Regions from separate parts of the Homo sapiens genome. Here region 2 is linked to region 1. The links are contacts of gene promoters, found by promoter capture Hi-C in human tissues and cell types (Jung and others, 2019). All regions are on one chromosome and are shown on one strand. The core of a region is centred on a gene start or on the middle of the fragment in contact, and the rest is flanking DNA. Distances in the headings are between cores, read along the strand shown.

Region 1 (4,932 bases), core at 2,102-4,601:
TTTTTAAACAAGATACAAAATGCAAAAGCCAGATGGCAAATATTAATAAATTTGAGGCCAGGCACGGTGGCTCATGCCTGTAATCCCAGCACTTTGGGAGGCAGAGGCAGGCAGATCATGAGGTCAGGTGTTTGAGAACAGCTTGGCCAACATGGTGAAACCCCATCTCTATTAAAAATACAAAAATTAGCTGGGCATGGTGGCATGCACCTGTAATCCCAGCTACTCAGGAGGCTGAGGCAGGAGAATTGCTTGAACCTGGGAGGCGGAGGTTGCAGTGAGCCAAGATTGCGCCACTGCATTCCAACTTGGGCAACAGACCAAGACTCCGTCTCAAACAAATGAAATAAAATAAATTTGAAATGACAATTTAAAAATTCTGTTCAACAAAAAAGGAGACAATACATTGAAAGAAAATATTTGCAAAATACATAATAGGCAAAGGATTGATATTACAATATGTAAAGAACATCTACAAATAAGAAAAATAAACAATAGTAAAATGGGCAAAAACAAAATTAACAAACAATTTACAGAAGAAAAAGAAATGGCCAAATAGAAGAGATGTGCAACTTCTCTAATAATAACAAGAATAACACTGGCTAAAGCATAATGCTCACTGTGGATCAGGTGCTTTTCTAAATGCTTTAGATATCAACTCATTTACTCTTACAGCCCCATGAGATAGGTACTATTATTTTCCCCATCTTACAGATAAGAAAATTGAGGTGAGGTTAAAGCAGTTGCTCAGGGACACACAACTAGGAGCGCAGGGCTGGAATTCCAATGCAGGCAGTATAGAGACATAGTCCAGTATAGCTCTTAACCACTATGCTACATTACCTTTTCATGGATCTAGGGATCCAGAAGAATACCAATTAAAACAATGTATCATTTGTTATCCAAACTGGCAAATAAAAAAGACTGACCTAGTCAACGTGGAAAACTGAGTACTATCAACACTGCTGGTGGGAGAACATAATGGTGCTCTTTTTGCAGTGATAAACTATTCTTACAGAAACAGATACTCTGAAAGAAAGTTCAGAAAATCTATTTACCCAATAAAAGGTGGACAATAGTCAGTTTCTTACTAAAACATTAATTTTACTTTTTCCTGAAGGTAGTAGCATATCTTAACATTCCTGCTTTTCTTTTCTCTCTTACTCCACAAATGCCCAGTAAAGGCTACCAGAGGATGAGCACGCCACTGCTCTCATGCTAACTTTTTGATGTGGCTGCTTCCCTTGTGCTTCAGGATTTAATCAGCTCAGGTCAAGCTTTTCCCAAAAGCCTGTTTCTGGATGCACTAACATCACTGAATCGGTTGATTCGCTTTTCCTTCCAGTGGGCTGACACAGATTCTGCTTTCTGAAACTCTTTTCCGTATTTGTCTCTTATCCTCTTTCTCAACAGGTTCAAGAGCTAAGACTGAAGGTGAGAAGCTCAAACTTTTCTGCTTTGTTCAAAAGCCATTAAAAAGGCCTTTCTTCTTTTCAGCAATACGGTATTTCCAATCAGATGAAAACGTTGCTTCTGAAATCTCTCAATTCTCCAGTTTCCGGTTTACTGTCTACAAAGCATGTTAAGTAGCAATATTATTACATTGTTAGATGTTAATAGTATAAATTATTTGAGGGAAAAATAAAATCCATGTCATAGCTTTTCCAGCACTTCAGTCATCCCTATATACCTATTTGATCCATTATGGAGAGAAACACAGAAAGGCACATGGAGCTATAAAAGAGGCTGCTACTAAACCAAAACATGAAAGTACTGAAAGTTTATCACAGATGGTAGTATGCAAAGGTGATACAGCCTTTAGTTTTTTTAAAAAGCATAGATCAATTTCCATTCGAAAAATCTCACTTGTACATCCAAAACTTCCTTTTTGCACTGTGGTCTAAAATGTATTACCAACTTGGTTTCTGATTATAGCAAAGCAATTAAATTTGCAAGCGTGACATGGACATTGTGAAAACGCAACAGAATACCAAGAAAACAGTGCTTTACTAAACCTCCAAGGGAGGAGCCCTGAAGTGGTGACTACCTTTTCACTGAGGGAGCAATTTAAGAACGTTCGTACTATAGATTACAGATAGGATGCATGAAGAGATTAAAGTTGGCAGGAGAATGGAAAATTTGAATATCCAAGTTTGCATTTTTTCATCTGCATCATATGGTGACAGACTAACACACTCCACGAAAACACAAAGCTTCCTTACGGAGAGGATGCAAAAGGGGCACCACAACAGGCCCGAGGCAATGATTTCTCTACCCCACTCTATCCTACCGTGGCCCCAGCGACATCACACCATTGCTGGACAGCTCCACCACAGCTAGGCATAACCGCACCGACAGGAGCGAGCAAAGACACCTCGGCTAGGAGTCCCAGCGCGAGGCACCCCACACCTAAGCCTATGGTCCTCATCTTGCTGGAAAGAAAACTGAGGCGCTGAGGGGGAAGCAGTGACCAATGCCTGAGAAGGCCAAGAGTGTTAAGACGAGGTCGATCTTGGACTTCTCTTTCCCCACCTCCCCCAACTACTCCAGTCCTGGAAGAAGCCACAAGTTTGGAAGAGAAGTTGTGGAAACCAGACGGGGGTGGGGTGCGGTGCGGTGCGGTGGGGGACCTGAGAGAGTTTTAAAAGCACTGGTATTTGTCCCACACAAGGTCGCCCGCTCCAAGTCACTGTTCCCCGCTCCCCGGGTAGGCTTATAGCCAAAGAGGCTTCTAGGCTTCGAGATCAGCCCACCGCGCCCCCTCAGCCCTTCTCCGCGGGCCGCAGCCCCATCCCGGCCTCTGGGTCCCGGCCGGGGATCGGAACCCAGCCGGCTTCTCCGACAGCGTTTCCGACGCCCGGCACCTCTCGCAGCCCCGTCCCCCAGGCTCCCCCGTCTCCACCCGCCACCCCCCGGCGCTCCCGTCAACGTCCCCTTCCTCCCTCAGGACGCCCCTTGGGGCGCCTCTCGCGCCGGGTCCCGCCGGGTGCTCGGCACGCTGTTCCTTTCCTCTCCCCTCCCGCGGCCCTTCTTCTGTGGGGCCCACCTGGCGCGGCCCCCGCCCCCGGCCAGTCTCCTCAGTGAGCGGCCGCCTCCCAAGTCCTCCCGGCCCCGCCCCGCTCCCGGACGGATACAGTTTGAAGCCCCTCAGGATCTCCCTGGCCCGCTCGTCCTTGGCTGACATGATGCGGCGGTCGCCGCCCGCGGCTTTCTCACTCTGGTCGGCGGAGCCTCGCAGACGGTGCCCAGGAGCCGAGGATGGAGCCGCAGCCCGGCTTGGAGACCTCGGGCTAGCAGCCGCAGCGGCCAGACCAGGACCGGCCTCTCTCTCCCCTCAGCTCCCGCTTCTGATCCCTTCTCCTTCCCCCTAGCCTCGCAGTGCCCTCCTGGAACCAATGGAAAGCCAGCCTTGGCGATTGGCATCTCAACCAGCCAGTAGGAGCGCGCAGCGGCTTCGCAGGGGGACTGTTAACGTCAATGGGAAGGGCCCTCCCCGGGAAGTCCCATAGGACACAATATTCATCTGGTGTTGTTGCCTAGAGTTTGTCCCAGCGGAGGGTTGGCTTCGGATCTGCAGAGGCTTTAGGGACCTGCTCCAGCCACTGAGCACACTAGCCGTCTGAGACGGCAGCTGAGTTGCACTGTGCGACGCGACAGAGACTACATTTCCCAGCATTCCAGCGGCGCACTCGGGGGACCACAGATCCCAGCGCACCACAAAGAGGCCCGGGGACTACAAATCCCAGCATCCCCTGCACTCGGTTCCTCTGTAACTTAGACTCCAGTGTGCCGCGCAGTGTGCGCAAATTCACAAACCCGCCCGCTGAGTTGGTCGTTTCGGAATCCCGAGACTTGAAACCCAACGGGAAGACCCTTCTCACCCTCAAAAGAAGATGACAGCCCGCAGAGAGTTAACTTCTGTTTACATGGAACTCAGACATCTGCAAATCATGGTAAGGCTGCAAACAACAAACAAAAACACTGATTAAACCGTGAAAGAGAACAAAATGACTTCTTCAAATCGTGCTTGTTTGTTGGTCTGAGGCGCCTTTTACATGTATTTCAGGGTTTTTTGCTGTATTCCTGGTTTGCACCGGGAGAGCTATGGATTGTATACTCAGAATATCAAAACATAAAGGGACTTTGCTAATCTATCCCCTGTTGTTACGTATGAGGAAATTGAGGCCCAGAGAGGCGAAGGGATTGGCCACAGATCACAGCAAGTTCGGGCAGAGTTAGAATTCAGCCCTAAGTCGGCTGACTTGCAGTCTGGACTCTTTGCACCACACTAAGGAGGTGATATTTTTAGCAGCATGGCAATGTGAATTATTCTCCTTGAACGGTTTTCCTATCCACTGTTGAAACACCCAGAATTAGGTAGCATTTATTTGGTGGATTTCTTGCGAGTGAGGGAGTGTGATATTTATTTATTTTCAGCCTAGGTAGGATTTGGTGTTTTGTTTTTTGCCACTCAAGGTGACATTTAATGTGATTTCAGGAAGTAGGTAAAATTACAGTGTGAGCCACGGTTTCCTTGGAAACCTCCTCTGTCCTTCTCTTGGCCTTCCTTCCTCTGCCTGTCCCCACTTTCACCCATCTGGGAACTCACCCAATTTTTTCTTCCATGTAATTCAACAAATATCTTTTCAGCCTGTTATTTGTCAGGCACTGAGTGGGTAAAAGGTGAAGGACATGGTCACTGCCACCAGGAAGATGAACATATATTTAGGGAAATAAGGAGACTCCACTGAGATTCAAGATGGAGTGTGATAAAATGGCATAAAGAAATGACATCAGAATGCTAAGGAGGCCCTGATGAAAAGGTTCATTGCAGCTGGCAAAACTTTAATGGACAAGGTGGCATTTGAACTTGAATTTTTTTTCCATGTTAAAAAAGTTTTTTTTTTGTTAATGAGGTGTAACATACAGTAT
Region 2 (5,028 bases), core at 639-3,138, 1.3 Mb after region 1:
GTGCAGAGCCAGGAAGGAGAAGGCCGCCCTAGGGCCTTGGAACCAGAAGAGCATGGGGTCTGCACGCAGCTTCTCCCATGGATCAGCTCTTCTCTGTGGGGCCGCTCTTCCCAGCCAGCAGCCTCCCTTCTCAGTCCCCAGTCCTAAGAAGGAGTCTGATGGCTCAGCCTCCACGGCTTTCTCCGCATGAGCCACTCAGGGGCTGCCAGTCTGTGTATGAATCGGCTGTCTTGGAGCAGGTACCCCCCTCTGCCTCTCAGAGATGGGGACAGAGTCGTGGGGGCAGCGTGCCTCCTTAAGGTCTCCGCTTAGCCAGGACAGTGGGCGGGCAGCTTTCAGAGAAGATGGGCGGCTCTGCTGGACTTCTCTGCTCCTGACCCCGGCACTAGATCTGTGACCTCCGCAGTAGCTGACATGGTACAGGGAGCTGTGGACCTAGGTGGTCTGAAGAGGTTTTCCTTCAAGGTGAATTAAAGGGGAATTCTCATAGGATTCTCCCAGGTGGACTCACCTTCGAAAATCTACCTCCAAGAGTAAATGACAGCAGACGTCCACTGAGGACCAAGTGCACACTCATGCCCAATTAAGCAGACTCAGAGCCCTTCGGGGAAGCTTTAGCAGTTATTGATCTCTGCCTATTTTAACTCAAGTTCCTCTTTTCATGTTGAGGCAAAACCTCACAGTCTTTTCTGAGCTTAGCCACAGTTTCTAAATAACTCATTCCTGACACCTGAGCCTGTTCAGTGCCACCAGAATACGAGGCTCCCCAAAATAAGAATCTGGCCTGAAATTTTGCCAAGTGAAGCACCGAAAGGCTTTCATTGTTTCTTAGTTTAGTAACTTTAGCTCTTTTCCTGGGGACTTCTGTTCTCTTGTCAACACCAAAGATCTCATCTTTGTTCTTTGCAGACCAACTTCATGGAGTTGGCCCACGTGTCATAGCCCATGACAGCCCTGTATCAATCAGGGAGAGGAGCTGCCTCACCTGGGGGACTCTTTTCTCTCACTCCATCTTTCACAGACTTAAAAAAAATCCGAGATGGGAGGGCAGGATGCAAACTGTAACTTCATCCAACCCCCTCGTTCTAAATATGAGTGTTGCTGAGAACTGCGGAAGTTGGAACTCACAGCCAGGCCTCCCGGCCTCCCCGGCTAAGCTTTCTTCCTTCCAATCCAGAAGGTGTTTCCAAGCCTGTCTGGAGTCCCCTGGGGAAGGATGAGCCCAGGACTCTGCCCAGAGGGACAGGGAGACAGGGCAATGTGGCCTCTCAGAGAGCTTGGCCTCTTGCCCTTCACATGGTTATAGATAATATTTGATCCCAGGTGGCATCTGTCCCTTGTGGTAAATCAGTGAGGTGCCCCTAGAATGAAAGCAGACTCCATTCCCGGCTGGGATCTGGGTTCAAGTCCAATTTGGTCAGCGATGTGGCCTTGGGCAAGGACTGCCAAGAAACTGCTGGAAAGTAGAGATCACACACATACCTCCCAGCACAAGGAAGCTGCTGGGGAGGAGGGTGGAGACAGCAGGGAGCTGGAGGTGCTTTAGAGCATTCTAGGCAGTGCTGGGAGTGGTGGGGAAGGAGGGGTAAATTTTGGAACTCCATCTCCCTCAGCTCTGCTCTTTGGGCTATGGGCTTCATGTCTTCAGGGACCTGAGTACGCTCTGGAACTGTTAAGCAGTTGTTCAACAGCTGCTGTGCCACTCAAACCCTGAGAACCTTCTGGACTCAGCTTGCACTGCTTTTCCTGGTTGGGGGAGGGTTGGGGCAGTGCTCTGAGCCCTGTGTGAGGCCAGACGAAGGCAGAACGGCTCAGCCCCGCAGGCCTGACTGTCCCACACCAAGAGAGTGGGTTTCTTGTAAAGCCAAAACTCCTTTCTTGACTTGGAAAGGGAAGTGACTCTCCCCTAAGAGAAGCGGTGCCTATCTTGAGCTGCTCGCTGCAGACTGAGCTGGGAGGCTGCTGCTGCCTTTGAAATGGCCCCTCTTTGGGAAAGTAAGGAAGAGTCTGAGGTCCTGCAAGCCGCCCTCATGGGCCAGCTCCAGGGTGGCCAGGGAGGCCTGGAGTGGCCTCAGACGTGTCGCATAAATGGCTGTCTCAAACCTAGGGCCACAGTTGAAGCAAAAGAGGCCCTTCGGCTCCACCCTACAACCTTTTGGCCCTTGCGTCCTTTCTAACATCCTTCCCACCGAGAGGAATAAAGCAGAAAATTAGAACTACCCATAATCCCCTATCACATCAATGTTCTCTGTGAACTTCCTGTCTTTTCTTGAGGTTGAGATTGTATCTAGGATATTGATTGTTTCAGTCAAGATGGGAGCACCCCCAGGTGTTTTTCTGTTTTGTTTTGTTTTGTTTTTGAGACAGGGTCTTGTTCTGTAGACCAGGCTGGAGTGCAGTGGCGCGACCTCGGCTCACTGCAACCTCTGCTCCCAGGCTCAAGCAATTCTCCCACCTCAGTCTCCTGAGTAGCTGAGATTACAGGTGTGCACCACTATGCCCAGCTAAATTTTGTATTTTTCTGTAGAGATAGGGTTTCACTATGTTGCCCAGGCTGGTCTCAAACGCCTGGGCTCAAGTGATCCACCCGCCTCAGCCTCCCAAAGTGTTGGGATTACAGGCGTGAGCCACCATGCCCAGCCACACTCCCAGGTTTTCATGCAAGTTTAGATGAAGAGTTAGAAAATATCTATCTCATAGACCCTTTCATTATTCTTTCCCGATTTGGAAGAAAAAATCCAGTGGTCTGAGCCATTCCGGTGAGTTCTAAAGAAGAGACACTTGTGACTCAAGTCCCTGGTCCCTGACGGTGGCTGTCACGTATCTCCGGGCGACATGGCTTTTGGAGAGGGAAAACAAAACAACTTTCTAAAAGCTGTTCCGTCACAAGCATCCGGGAGGTGAACGGTTGAGCCATTGTTATTAAGCTCAGGAAGCGAGTGGCAGCTGTTATTGTTCTGAGTGGTCACTGAGTGAAGTAAAGATTCCGTCTGAGCCGCCGGGCAAAGGATGTGGCTCTAACACACTTCCTGAAGTTGCACAACAAGGGGCACAGAAAAGGTTCAGGGCATAGAAGCCTAGCACGGCCAGGGCTGCCCTGTGTGGGCTCCACAGCCATGCCAAGGACAATGGGCCCCAAGGGGGTCCGTGCTGGTGGAGGGGTTCCTTTATGCTCTGACACTCACCTTCTAGAAGCCTGCATTTTGAATTGGTTTTTCTGTCTACTGCAGAATATGGACAGATCTATTTTCCAAGCCTCTGAATATCTCAAAACATCTTTAGTTGTCTACACATTCAAGAGTAATTTGATAGATATAAAATTCTTGGAACCAACTGTTCGCTCAAAATCCTGTAAAAGGTACAGCACTACCTTCAAGAATGTAGTGTTACAGGCTGGGTGCAGTGGCTCACTCCTGTAATCCCAGCACTTTGGGAGGCTGAGGCAGGTGGATCACCTGAGGTCAGGAGTTTGGGACTAGCCTGGGCAACATGGTGAAACCCCGTCTCTACTAAAAATGCAAAACTTAGTCGGGTGTGGTGGTGCATGCCCGTAGTCACAGCTACTCCGGAGGCTGAGGTGGGAGGATCGCTTGAACCTGAGAGGCAGAGGCTGCAGCGAGCTGAGGTCTCACCACTGCACTCCAGCTGGGTGACAGAGCAAGACTGTCTCAAAGAAAAAAAAAAAAAAGAATGTAGCGTTATGAATAGTTCCGAGTACAAAATCCAAGGCCAAACTTGTGCTGGTTCCTATAGAGGCGACCCATTTTTTTCTTTTTTTCTACTTTGAAGCCGGTGGGAATTCTTTTCCAGTGTTGTCATTTTCCTTTCATTGATAGTACCTGCAATGTGTTCGGCTTGTTCACTTTGCAAACTCTGTTCTTTGACACAAAAGACCTTTCTTCTGTTAGGTCTTTGAGTAAGTTTTTATTCCAGCTCTTCTGGCATCTTTCTTCTAATCCCCTGAGAAAGCCAAGCCTCCCCCCGTTTTCTAGCCCCCTGGGGTACACATGCCTTTGTGACTGAGCAGCCCCTCCCTCTTGTGTGGCTGCAAGATCCCTAATCCCTTCCCCAGTCTGTCAGAGAATTCTGGAAAGAGTATCCATGCCATTTGTCATCTCTACCTCCAAATGACTGTCTTTATTTTCTCCCCATCCCCACTAGCCATTTTGTCCTTGTTTCTCCATGTTCCAGAGCCTTCTGGTTCACCTTGCCCCAGATCATGGGCCTGTTTCCTGTCTTTGTTACCCAAAGCGGTCTAGAACTAACATCAACATGCACCATGTAGCCGATAAGTTTAGACTGGGGAATGGGATGCAAGTGTAACCAATGAGATGTGAAGAGAAGGGCTTTGTGGGCTTCTAGTAAAGGTCTGTTTGTCTTAAAAACAGACATAGGGATAAGATAGCCTCTTTCTTTCTTTCTTTCTTTCTTTCTTTCTTTCTTTCTTTCTTTCTTTCTTTCTTTCTTTCTTTCTTTCCTTTTTGAGACAGAGTTTCGCTCTTGTTGCCCAGGGTGGAGGGCAATGGCATGATCTCGGCTCACCACAACCTCCGCCTCCTGGGTTCAAGTGATTCTCCTGCCTCAGCCTCCCAAGTAGCTGGGATTACAGGCACCTGCCACCATGCCGGGCTAATTTTTGTATTTTTAGAAGAGATGGGACTTCACTATGTTGGTCAGGCTGGTCTCGAACTCCTGACCTCAGGTAATCTGCTCGCCTTGGCCTCCCAAAGTGCTGGGATTACAGGTGTGAGCCACCGCACCCAGCCAAGATAGCCTCTTTCCTACCTTTGGAAGCTGCCATAGGATGTGATAGCTGGGTCTCTGCTGCTGCCTTGTAACCATGAGGAGAGGTAGCTGGCGAGTGAGGCCAACACACGGAAAGGAGAAGTGAACCTGGGTCCTGGATGATGCCCTTGAATTTGCTGAACAGAATGAAGCAACCTGGGATCTGCCCTCCTCTAGATTTTCTGTTTTGTGAGTTAATTAATTTCTTTTTGCTCAAGTTAGTTGAGTTAGGGTTTTCTAACA

What was found. The method cuts DNA at HindIII sites, captures the fragments that hold promoters and counts their contacts. A contact is called where the count stands out against the background at its distance.
Region 2: a contact is called between a fragment that was not itself captured here and the fragment with the promoter of PDE6D in region 1, in 1 of the 25 tissues and cell types used here (H1 embryonic stem cells).

Annotation. Positions count from the first base shown.
Region 1 is chr2:231,777,931-231,782,862 of GRCh38, forward strand. PDE6D (phosphodiesterase 6D) reads right to left here and starts at 3,352. Exons shown (of 5, transcript NM_002601.4): 1 at 3,135-3,352. The coding sequence starts at 3,184. It also overlaps a transcript of COPS7B not described here. RefSeq lists enhancers at 2,519-2,598, 3,149-3,378 and silencers at 2,542-2,765, 2,889-2,938. The HindIII fragment of the contact is 5,328 bases long and covers 1,746-4,932 here.
Region 2 is chr2:233,081,713-233,086,740 of GRCh38, forward strand. All of the region lies in intron 2 of INPP5D (inositol polyphosphate-5-phosphatase D), which reads left to right. Among named protein-coding and RNA genes, the nearest start is that of INPP5D, 24 kb to the left of the region's middle. RefSeq lists enhancers at 1-81, 592-741, 3,112-3,161 and a silencer at 2,827-3,121. The HindIII fragment of the contact is 4,211 bases long and covers 1-3,994 here.